Regions from separate parts of the Homo sapiens genome. Here region 1 is linked to region 2. The links are contacts of gene promoters, found by promoter capture Hi-C in human tissues and cell types (Jung and others, 2019). All regions are on one chromosome and are shown on one strand. The core of a region is centred on a gene start or on the middle of the fragment in contact, and the rest is flanking DNA. Distances in the headings are between cores, read along the strand shown. Region 1 holds the start of LOC107984199 (a long non-coding RNA gene). Region 2 holds the start of NET1 (neuroepithelial cell transforming 1).

The links. The method cuts DNA at HindIII sites, captures the fragments that hold promoters and counts their contacts. A contact is called where the count stands out against the background at its distance.
Region 1: a fragment that was not itself captured here is called in contact with the fragment with the promoter of NET1 in region 2 in 3 of the 25 tissues and cell types used here (adrenal gland, hippocampus and thymus).

The regions. Positions count from the first base shown.
Region 1 is chr10:5,632,209-5,637,384 of GRCh38, reverse strand. LOC107984199 (a long non-coding RNA gene) reads left to right here and starts at 4,360. Exons shown (of 2, transcript XR_001747344.2): 1 at 4,360-5,158. The HindIII fragment of the contact is 4,294 bases long and covers 1,186-5,176 here.
Region 2 is chr10:5,411,290-5,416,513 of GRCh38, reverse strand. It overlaps NET1 (neuroepithelial cell transforming 1), which reads right to left and starts at 3,957. Exons shown (of 12, transcript NM_001047160.3): 1 at 3,694-3,957. The coding sequence starts at 3,821. RefSeq lists a silencer at 3,616-4,045. The HindIII fragment of the contact is 9,279 bases long and covers 1-5,224 here.

The DNA of each region.
Region 1 (5,176 bases), core at 2,083-4,582, 220 kb before region 2:
CTACAAAAAAGAAAAGATAAACAACCCAATAGAAAAAAACTGGGCAAAGAATAAGAACAGGGCTTTATAAAAGAGGGATCTTGAAATGTCCACTCCCAGGAAAGGATGCTGAGAAGTGATCAGGGAAATTCAAATTAATATTTAATTCAACAAAGTGATTACCATTGAATGTCGCCATTGAGACAGTCATTGAAAGGTCTGAGTTTCACAGTGTGGATGGGTGGGCCATGTGGGCAAATGGAAATGCACAGGCTGCTAGTGGGGAATACATTGATGATAGGTCTGTTTTGGAGAGCTATTGGCTGATATTAATGCAATGAAAAATGTGCATACCCCTTGTCCCCAGTAATTCTACTTTATATAAATAATACCCTAAAGAAACTCTCAGGCAATATCACAAGGAGACATGTATGAGGTTGTTTACTGCAGCGATACCTGTAATAGTGAAAACCCCACCAGTTGGGAGTAAGATGTAGAATATCATATACATCTTACATGTCATACCTACACTCGATAAAAGTTAAGATGGATTAGAACTACACGTTTTAACACGAATAGATCTCAAAAATATAGTGGTCGATCAAACAATTGCCAGACTTTTCTGTGTATGGTATGAGTCAATTTGTATAATTTTTTTAAAAAGCCCATCTAATAATTCATACGTATGCAGTAAATACATAAAATCATGGAAACCACACACTGGCATCATGGGGATACCAGTGGCTTGGGGATAGGAACGCAGGGAACTTCACCTCTGTTGTATTGCATTTCTTAAAAAGTGATGTTGGCCAGGAAGAGTGGCTCACGCCTGTAATCCCAGCACTTTGGGAGGCTGAGGCGGGAGGATTGCTTGAGCTCAGAAGTTCGAGACCAGCCTCGGCAACATAGTGAGACCCTATCTCTAAAAAAAAAAAAAAAAAAAAAAAGATACGAAGCACATGATAGAATGCTACTATTTGCTCATGTTGGGGGGCAAATAGAAACATGGGGTTACTCTCCATGTGTTTTGATGTTTGATTTTTTCATAATAAAAATTGAATGCATAGAGGAACAACGAAGGGCAAAAAAACCAAAAAATTAGAAACTCGGTTGTGCTTACAAACACCTTTCAGATTCCTGTTGGCCACAACGGCATGGTTTTGGTTATAGGAGCTTGTATTCCACAGTGGGTGTTGACACTTTTTTTGGAACTACTCTCAGACAAACTAGGTATGCAAAGCCCTGTGTCCTGAGGTTTGTCTCACAGAGCCGACCCTCATCTCCTCTGTAGGAAAGTGCTGGGTAAAATGCCTCTCACTGATTGGCCTCGCTGCGCTGGTATGGCTCCCTCCCTGGACAATGGTGCGTCTTCTAGGTCTGGCTCTGGGCAAAGTCCCTGGTATCAAACCCTCCCCTTTGGAGAGGTCATAATTGAGGGGCCATTTCACAGTAAGAAAATGCAGCTGCACCCTCTGTCCCCAGCCCGTGGAGGCGGGGTGCTGCCCACCTTCTGCAGGTGGGAGGCGTCGTGAGGGAGACAGCAAGAGACCCCAGTGGGATCCCCAGTGGGATCTCTTGCTCAGCTCTGGGCTCCCCGTGGTCTTCCAGGGAGGGAGTGGAATCTCGTCTACTCCTGGACCATAGCAATGCTCCCTGTGGTATCCCATCTGTGCTACCAGGTGAGTCTGCAGAGAGCTCTGAAGTCATTTGGGATGAAAAGAATGCCTTTCCCTGTCCATTTCATGCCCTGGGCCACTTTGTTAAACTGCTTGTGCTTTCTCTCCAGTGGGCAACACCTGTTTCTTCTAGGCAGTTGAGTTCCTTTATTCGGAAAAACGAGCGTAAGACTGGCTCTGAGAACAAAGCTGGACAGCTTGCTCATCTTTCGAGCAGCTGTGCCGTGGAGAGATGAAGGTGGGGCGCACAGGGCCCTGGCAGGGGCTGTGCCCCCTGTAATGGCTGAGAAAATATTTCCAGACCCTGGAGTCTTTGCCTTTTCTCTTTTCTCCACATTAGCACCACATGACAGTGACAGCGAGGCCTCAGTGATTTTGGCTTGAAGGTCTTGTGATCTCCGACAAGTTGAATGAAAAGATGTCTTAAATTGGTCCAATCTAAAGAGTGCCTCCTTTTTCTCCAAACCATGAAAAAAGGCAGAAAAGATGGATGATAGGCCTCTCTGCCTGTCTCTGTCTCTCTCTCTCTCACGCACCTGTGTACACATTTATTCGTTCAAATACAATTTCACTCTAGCATCTGGCCTCCAGGTGTGCGGTTGTTGTGCACACGGACTTCATGGCTGGGGAGAATCTGCCACTGGACGCTGAGCCAGGATGTGCACTTAGCTTCACCATCTGCACTCTGAGTGATCAACAAAGAAAAGTCCCTCCGTTCTTGGTGTGAATCCAAATCCCGAAGCTTGTTCCACTGTGCTGGGGACAGAGGGTAAGACCAGAGGAGAAGCAGGGACATCCTCTTGCTCCTTGGTCCTCTTCCCCATCTTCCCCATCCAAGCCCACCCATCTTCTTCTTTCCTTTTTTTACCAGTTGTTCTATTTTAAGTTCTCTGCTGGGCACTAATGATATGAGAACACATAAAAGCAAATCTTGGCCCCGAGCATCTCAGAGTCTGTTTTTCAGGGAGCAGGTATAGGAACAGATGTTGCACCTCATCATGTGGTGAGCTGGGGGATGCTGTGGTCTGAATGTCTGTCTCTCCCCAGATTCCTGTGTTCAAATCCCCACCCCCACAGTGATGGTATTAGGATGTGGAGCCTCTGGGTGCTGATTAGCTATGAGGGCAGAGCTCTCTTGAAAGGGACCAGTGCCCTTAGAAAAGAGGTGCCAGGCCTGGTGCACTGGCTCACACCTGTAATCCCAGCACTTTGGGAGGCCAGGGTGGGCTGATCACTTGATGTCAGGAGTTTGAGACCAGCCTGACCAATATGGTGAGACTCCGTCTGTAGTAAAAATACACAATTAGCCAAGCATGGTGGCGGGCGCCTGTAATCCCAGCTACTTGGGAGACTGAGGCAGGAAAATCGCTTGAAGCTGGGAGGCAGAGGTTGTAGTAAGCCGAGATCGTGCCACTGCACTCCAGCCTGCACAATAAGAGTGAAACTCTGTGTCAAAAATAAAAATAGGTGCCAGAGAGCTGCCTTGCCCCTTCAGGCAGATGAGGACACAGAAAGAAGTCGCTGTCTATGGAGAAGAGAGCAGTCATCACCAGGCAGGGATCCTGGACTTCTCAGCCTCTAGAACTTTGAGAAATAGATTTCTGTTGTTTAAAAACCACCAGTGTTTAGGTTTTGTTTGCTTTTATTTGAGCCGGGGTCTTGCTCTGTTGCGCAGGCTGGAGTGCAGTGGCATGATCTCAATCTCCTAGGCTGAAGTGATCCTCCCACGTCAGCCTCCTGAGTAGCTGAGGCTACAGACGTGTGCCACCACATCTGTCTAATTTTTTAACTTTTGTAGAGACAAGTTCTCATTATGTTGCCCAGGCTGGTCTTAGGCTCAAGGATTCCTCCCTCCTCAGCCTCCTGAAGTGTTGAGATTACAGGCATGAGCCACTGTGCCCAGCCATATAGAATTTGTTTTAGCAGCCTCAGCAGACCAGGACAAGGCATGAGCAAACTTGACTCTTAACTCTGCCAAGGACACTGGAGAAGACAGAAGAGGGATGACTGCTGACCTTCTAAAGTCTTGGATTAATAAAGTCAATTACATAGCATAAAGAACAACTTCATTTTGATTCCCATGGTGCTCTGTGGTTTACAAAGCTTTATAACGACTTTGATTAATGGCAGCACTCTTCTGGGATGAGGATGAAGAAACAGAAGATTTGTTGAAGTGACTTTTCTTTTCCTTCATACTTTTTCTACCAGGCACGAAGAAGAGAGTGAGACTTAATTCCATGGAATTTTACATGTATAACAGGGCTTACTGTAATCCTTCTTATGCTTATGATTTTCAAAGACCTGGGAGAGACTTTGATCATAAAAGGCAAGATTTGGCCATCCGGAGAGCGTGGGATTTTGCCTACGAGCCTCTAGGAATCTGTGGGCGGCAGAACAGAAATAGGTCATTTATAAAACTTGACTGAGCCATAGGAAAAAAAATCCATCACAAGCTGACTTCAAAGAGTCTAATTGTTAGATTTTTTTCCTTCTTCTTTGGTGTCAGAGGGGTCCCTTGCTGCTTCTAAAATAGCATGGAGTATAAACTTGTATTCAAGAAATATAGGTAAGATACGATTTAGGTGCAGTTTTGGTTAAATACAGCATTGATGAGAGCAGTATTACTCAAGAGGCTGGGTGCTACTGAGTTCCCACATCCAGCCCCCAACCTGTGCTTGTCCCACCACATGTGGCTCCCACATCCAGCAGGCTGAATCTAAAACTGGCCTGGTCTATAAGGCCGTTCCTCAGATGATCTGACAGCCCATGGATTAATTCTGTGTCACTTTCAAACAGGGCAATAGAGTTGTCAAGACTTGATAAAGCCCAATAATATTTCTAATAACAAGTAAACTGAAAGCCCAGCTGGGCACTGATTCTTATTTTGTGTTGGGCTCCCAGGCCAGCCTACAACGATGTGTTCCTTTGCATTCAACAAACATTCACAGCCAGGCTTCCTAAGCTGGAGTCCCTGGATGTGTGCTTTGCAGATCTTGGCTGTAAAGTATCTCACTGGTCTTTCTCTCTGGCACCTCTTGTTATGCCTCCAGCTGCAGCCAAGCATCTGGGCCTTGGTCACCGAGTGCTGTGATTGCAGGCACTCTGTGCTGACAAGTGACTTGGTTGCCTCAGACCAGGTGTGACTCATTATTTTCCTCCTGACATTCCAAGCACTGAAGTAAATGATTGATGGAGGGAAAGATCCAAAGTGTCAGAGAAGTCTCTCTCTTGGCCGTGAATAACAGGCTACCTTGAATTGGTGTTTCCTTTGCGTATTTTGTTTCTAAGCAAATCGAGTCCCAGGTAGAGTTTTGCCCTTGAGCAGCTTCATGAGGTCAAGGAGGGGCGCTCACTCCACTCTGCACGGAAACACTGAGTGGAATGAAAATACAACCGGAGAGAATGTCCTCCCCACCAGAAGGTCGCCTCGAGACAGGCCTCCACGCATCGTTGCTGACCTCACACAGTGATACCTCTGCATGCCGGGGAGCAATTCCATCCAAGTAAGTGGTGGGTGGGGA
Region 2 (5,224 bases), core at 2,708-5,207:
TTAACTCTCTGTAGAGGGCAATACTCCTGAAAATGATCTACAAGATTTAATGCAATCTCTATCAGAATCCCTGTGGACTCCTTTGTAAAAATCGATTAAGCTGATTCTAAAATTCACATAGAATTGCAGGAGACCCAGGATAGCCACAACAATCTTGGGAAAAAAAGAACAAAGTAGGAGGACTCACATATCCCAATTTCAAAACTTACTATACAAAGCAACGGTAATCAAAACACCATGGTAATGGCATAGGGCTATTACATATAGATCAAGAGAATAAAAGTCAAAGTCTAAAAATAAACTCTCATGCTTAAGGTCAACTGATTTTTGACAAGGGTGCTAAGACTACTCAGTGGGAGAAAGAACAGTCTTCAAAAAATGGTGCTGGGGTACCTGGATAGACACATGAAAAAGAATTAAGTTGGACCGTCATCTCACATTATATACAAAAACTAACTCAAAATGGATTAAAGACCCAAATATAAAAGCTAAAATGATAAAATTCTCAGAAGAAAGCACTGGGGAAAGGATTCATAACAATGGATTTAGCAGTGATTTCTTGGATGTGACACCAAAACACAGGCAACAAAAGCAAAAATAGACAAGTAGGACTACAAACTAAAACATTTTTGTGCTTCGAAGCACATCATGAAAGTGAAAAGACAAACCACAGAATAAGAGAAAATATTTGCAAATAATCTATCTGATAAGGGACTTGTATCCAGAATAAAGAACTCTTAACAACTCAATAAAAAAGAAATTTAAAAATGAACAGGGCCAGGTGCGGTGGCTCACGCCTGTAATCCCAGCACTTTGGGAGGCCGAGGCAGGCAAATCACAAGGTCAGGAGTTCAAGACCAGCCTAGCCAACATGGTGAAACCCTGTCTTTACTAAAAATACAAAAAATTAGCCACACGTGGTGACACATGCCTGTAGTTCCAGCTACTTGGTAGGCTGAGGCAGGAGAATCACTTGAACCCGGGAGGCGGAGGTTGCAGTGAGCCGAGATCATGCCACTGTACTCCAGCCCCGGTGACAGACTGAGACTCCGTCTCAAAAGAAAAAAAAAAAAGAGCAAAGGATGGCCCACCAAAAATGGCCACACACATTACATAAATCCATTCATATGCAATGTCCAGAACAGAGAAATTCCTACAGACCGACAGATTAGGTTTTAGGGCAGAAGGGGTAGGAGAGGAACAATAGCTAAAGGGTACAAATGCTCTTTTTGAGGTGATGAAAATGTTCTAAGTAGTACAATTTAAGTGGGTAAATTGTACTGTACGTATTTGTCTTTCAAATTAGTTTATACTGAGTTTTGCCTGCAGAACGTTTTTCAATAGTCACATAATCATACACACAAATCTTTTTCCTTATGATTTCTGAATCTGATACAGTGCTTAGTTGCTTCTTGCCTCACAATTAATACTATCTTGTAATATTTTACGTATTCTTGTAGATGATCTTACATCTTTTCTGGAAAAGGAATATGTTATTTAATTCTCCATTTTCTCTCCATGGTTCTTCTAACTGTGTCTCACTCTCCTCATGCTGCCTGTGTTACTACGCTTTTCTCACAATGTATCATTTCCTACCTCACACAAAAAATAGAGGCCTGGTGGGAAAGTCCTCAAATTCCTGCTCACAACACACCCCATTCTTCAAAACTATATATCATCCATAGCTTCTTGTTAGGCTAAATCCTCTACCTTGAATTTGGATTCTGTCCTTTTCTGCCTTCTTGGATCCTTGTTCAACCATTTTTCTCCTCTACTGTCTGTTCAACCTCTCCCTCTATTTGTTAACTCAGCACAGCACATCAAGGGAATTTATTCTTTCTTAAGAGTCTATCCCACAAAATTGTGTTATTTCTCTCTATTCTTTCTTGTCTTCCTGTTGCAGTGAAACTTCTCTTCACCAATCCCATTGCCAGCTATCAGATTCGAACAATCATTTTTTCATTTAGACTACTGCAGACTGATTTCCTACCAATCCATCAGCTAAACTTGGAAATTTTAATTTGGTATACACAGCTGGGTCCACAAATCTCCTGAAATGTTTATGTATATGTGCACATTTTTGGGGAATAGTTTTCATAAAATATGAAGAGTGAGATGACTCCAAAATGTTGCTTATTTTTCTCATGGAAGGCAAACTGATCTTTTAAAATGCAAATATGTCATGCCATTGGCTCATTTAAAGTCTTTCAGTATTTCCCCATTACCATGAAGATAAAACCCAAACTCTGTCAAGGCATACAAGGTCTCTTCATGATGTGGCGCTTACCTCTTTAGCATCATCTCTCATGACTACCTCCTCCTTCTCCCCATATTGGTTTCCTCTCCTCTATACAAATATCACTGTTAATATAGTAATAAAATAGAATATATACCCAGAACTCATCAGACTCATTTGCTTCAGGGCCTTTCTACATGCTTCTCTGCCTGAAATCATCCATTTACATCTGCTCTCTAAACTGGTCCTTAAAGACTCAGGGATTACAATAGGAAATCATTTCCTATTCTCTCCAGTCAGGATTAAGTGTTCCTTTTAATCTACGGCATTCTGTGTATATCACTATAATAACTTTTATCACATATTATAATAATTATTAACCTACTTATCTTTCTTCCCCACTAGATTATAAATCTTAAATAGTAACAAGAGTATTTTTCCATTTCCATATTCCTAGTGTTGGCACTCACATTATTTTCTGAACAAATCGCACATTCTCTTCTCAACCTGTTGCAAAACACTCTAAGTTCGATATTGTAACCATTCTTGGAAACCATCTAAGATCAATACTCTCTTCTCATTACCAAATTTAATTTTCATTCCTCATCTAGCTTAATCCTCATCTTATTTTACTTAATCCTCATTTTATTTGACCTATCAATAACATCTGACATAGCTCGCCACGTCCTCTTCTTGAAATTCTTTCTTCATTTGGCCTCCTGGATACTGTTCTCACTTGGTTCCCTTCCTCCTAATTCACTAGCTATCCCCTGAGCTTCGCTTTGTGAAATTTCACTGAGCCAAACACGAGTCATACACTCTCATTTCAATGTATACTTCCACAAAAAGTAAAAAGAAAAAACACGAAAATGGTTGTGATGAACTCTCTAATAGGCATCTCATAACATATCCCGAAGTCAACTTATCCCTTAGTCTTTTCTTTCTCAGGACATGGAAGCCCATTCTCGTGGTGCTCACCATGACAGTTTCGGTCTGAGCAAAGGCATTTGGGAACGCCAGCCTACAGCCAGTTGGGTGTGCAGAACAAAACCATTGTGGTTTTTCCTAAGTCTCCCCTGAGAAACAGTCAGGAGGCGAGGAGACTCAATAAACCCGCCCCTTTGCCACAGGCAGGGAAAATCGCAGTTTGGGGTCTCAGGACCGACCTCGGTCCAAGGCCAGGCACACTGTCACTCCAGCCTGTGCCACCCTCACTTCCAGCGGCCCCCGTCCCCCCCCCCAACCCCGCGGTCACCTCCCCCACCCCCCACTCACCTCCCAGCGGCCCTCGCCTCCCCCTGGCCCTCACCAACACCCCCACTCGCCGCCCCCCACATCCAACTCCCGGCCAGCCCTCCCCTCCCCCCGGCCCTTGCCTCTCCAACACTCACCTCCCGTTCGGCCCTCCGCTCCCCTACACTCACCTCCCGTTCGGCCCTCCCCTCCCCCACACTCACCTCCCGTCCAGCTCCGACCCGGAGGTGTCGGCCGAAGGCCCCGTCGCTCCCTCCGTGCTGAGCCCAGAGGCCCGGCGGCTTCGCCTCCGCGGTCGAGGCTGCTTCTGAGCCGCCAGCTCGGGCTCCATGGCACGGAGGAGGGGGTGGGGCGGTGGCCGGGTGCCCGGGAGACCGGCAGGGACGGGCACGATGCCCGCCAGCCTCTGCCAGGCAGAAAGCGCCTGTCAGCGGACTGCAGCCGCCACCGCCGTCATCCGGGGATTTGAAAATGGCGGCTGAGCAGCGATCAGCCAATCAGTGAGCGCGCAGCGGTTCCTAGGAGACGTGGAGTCCCGCCCCTCCACCGCTCCCGGGATCTACTTGCCTAGGAAAGAACCTAGGAAAATTTGCCCTTAACTCCTGAGCGCATCCCTGAGTCCCTAAGGCCCGGTACCTCCTTCATTGTTCATTAGGACTTTCACTACAGGCCAAGGCAAATGGACTGGAAGCATTTTAATTCACCAGATCTTTCTTAGCATTTGAGGAGAAGAGAGGTCCAAACTAATGACCTGTAAACAAGGCATGTTTATTGGCCATATTCACACTGAATTATTGTGCACGTGGCCAATATGAGATATATTTCCAATTACCAAAGGTTATGCAAGTGTGTTCCCGGGACTGTCTCTAGGGAACCAGCAAAATCTAATTATGAGCCCTTATGTCTTCCAATAAGCATGACACAGTCTCTCCCTAGCAAAACAGAATGAAGTGACTTCATCCTTTGCTTGTAAAAGTCAGCAAAAGACATAATATAAAATAAAAGACCGCTTCAAGTAAAAAAAAAATTGTTAAACAAATTACACTTTCTTTGATTTTAAATATTGCTTTATATGTGTCAAAGTCTTTAAAAATAGCTTCTCCTGACCGGGCGCTGTGGCTCACGCCTGTAATCCCAGCACTTTGGGAGGCTGAGGCAGGCGGATCACGAGATCAGGAGATCAAGACCATCCTGGCCAACATGGTGAAACCCTGTCGCTACTAAAATACAAAACTTAGCTGGGCAGAGTGGCGCATGCCTGTAATCCCAGCTACTCAGGAGGCTGAGGCAGGAGAATTAGTTGAACCAGAGAGTCGGAGCTTGAATTGAGCCAAGACCGTGCCACTGCACTCCAGCCCAGTGACAGAGCGAGACTCCGTCTCCAAAAAAAAAAAAACAAAAAAACACTTCTCTTTTGCCAGTATATTTCCACTTATGGAAATTTATCCTAAAAAATAAAATTATATAAACATGAAGCTATTAATGACATTGTTTATAATAGAAACATTTAAAACAACCTAAATAAACAATGATTTATAGCTCATCCACTGAGAAGAATATTTTCAGCCAACAAAAATGAAGTGTGAAGTATGTAATAGTATACTGGTAATTTGAAATAAAAACATGAAGTATAGAGGTATATTCAGTATATTCAAAGTTATGAATTACAAGAGATTATACAAAGAAAAAAGATAATGTATTAAAATGTATTAAATGTATTAAAAAGTCAATGTA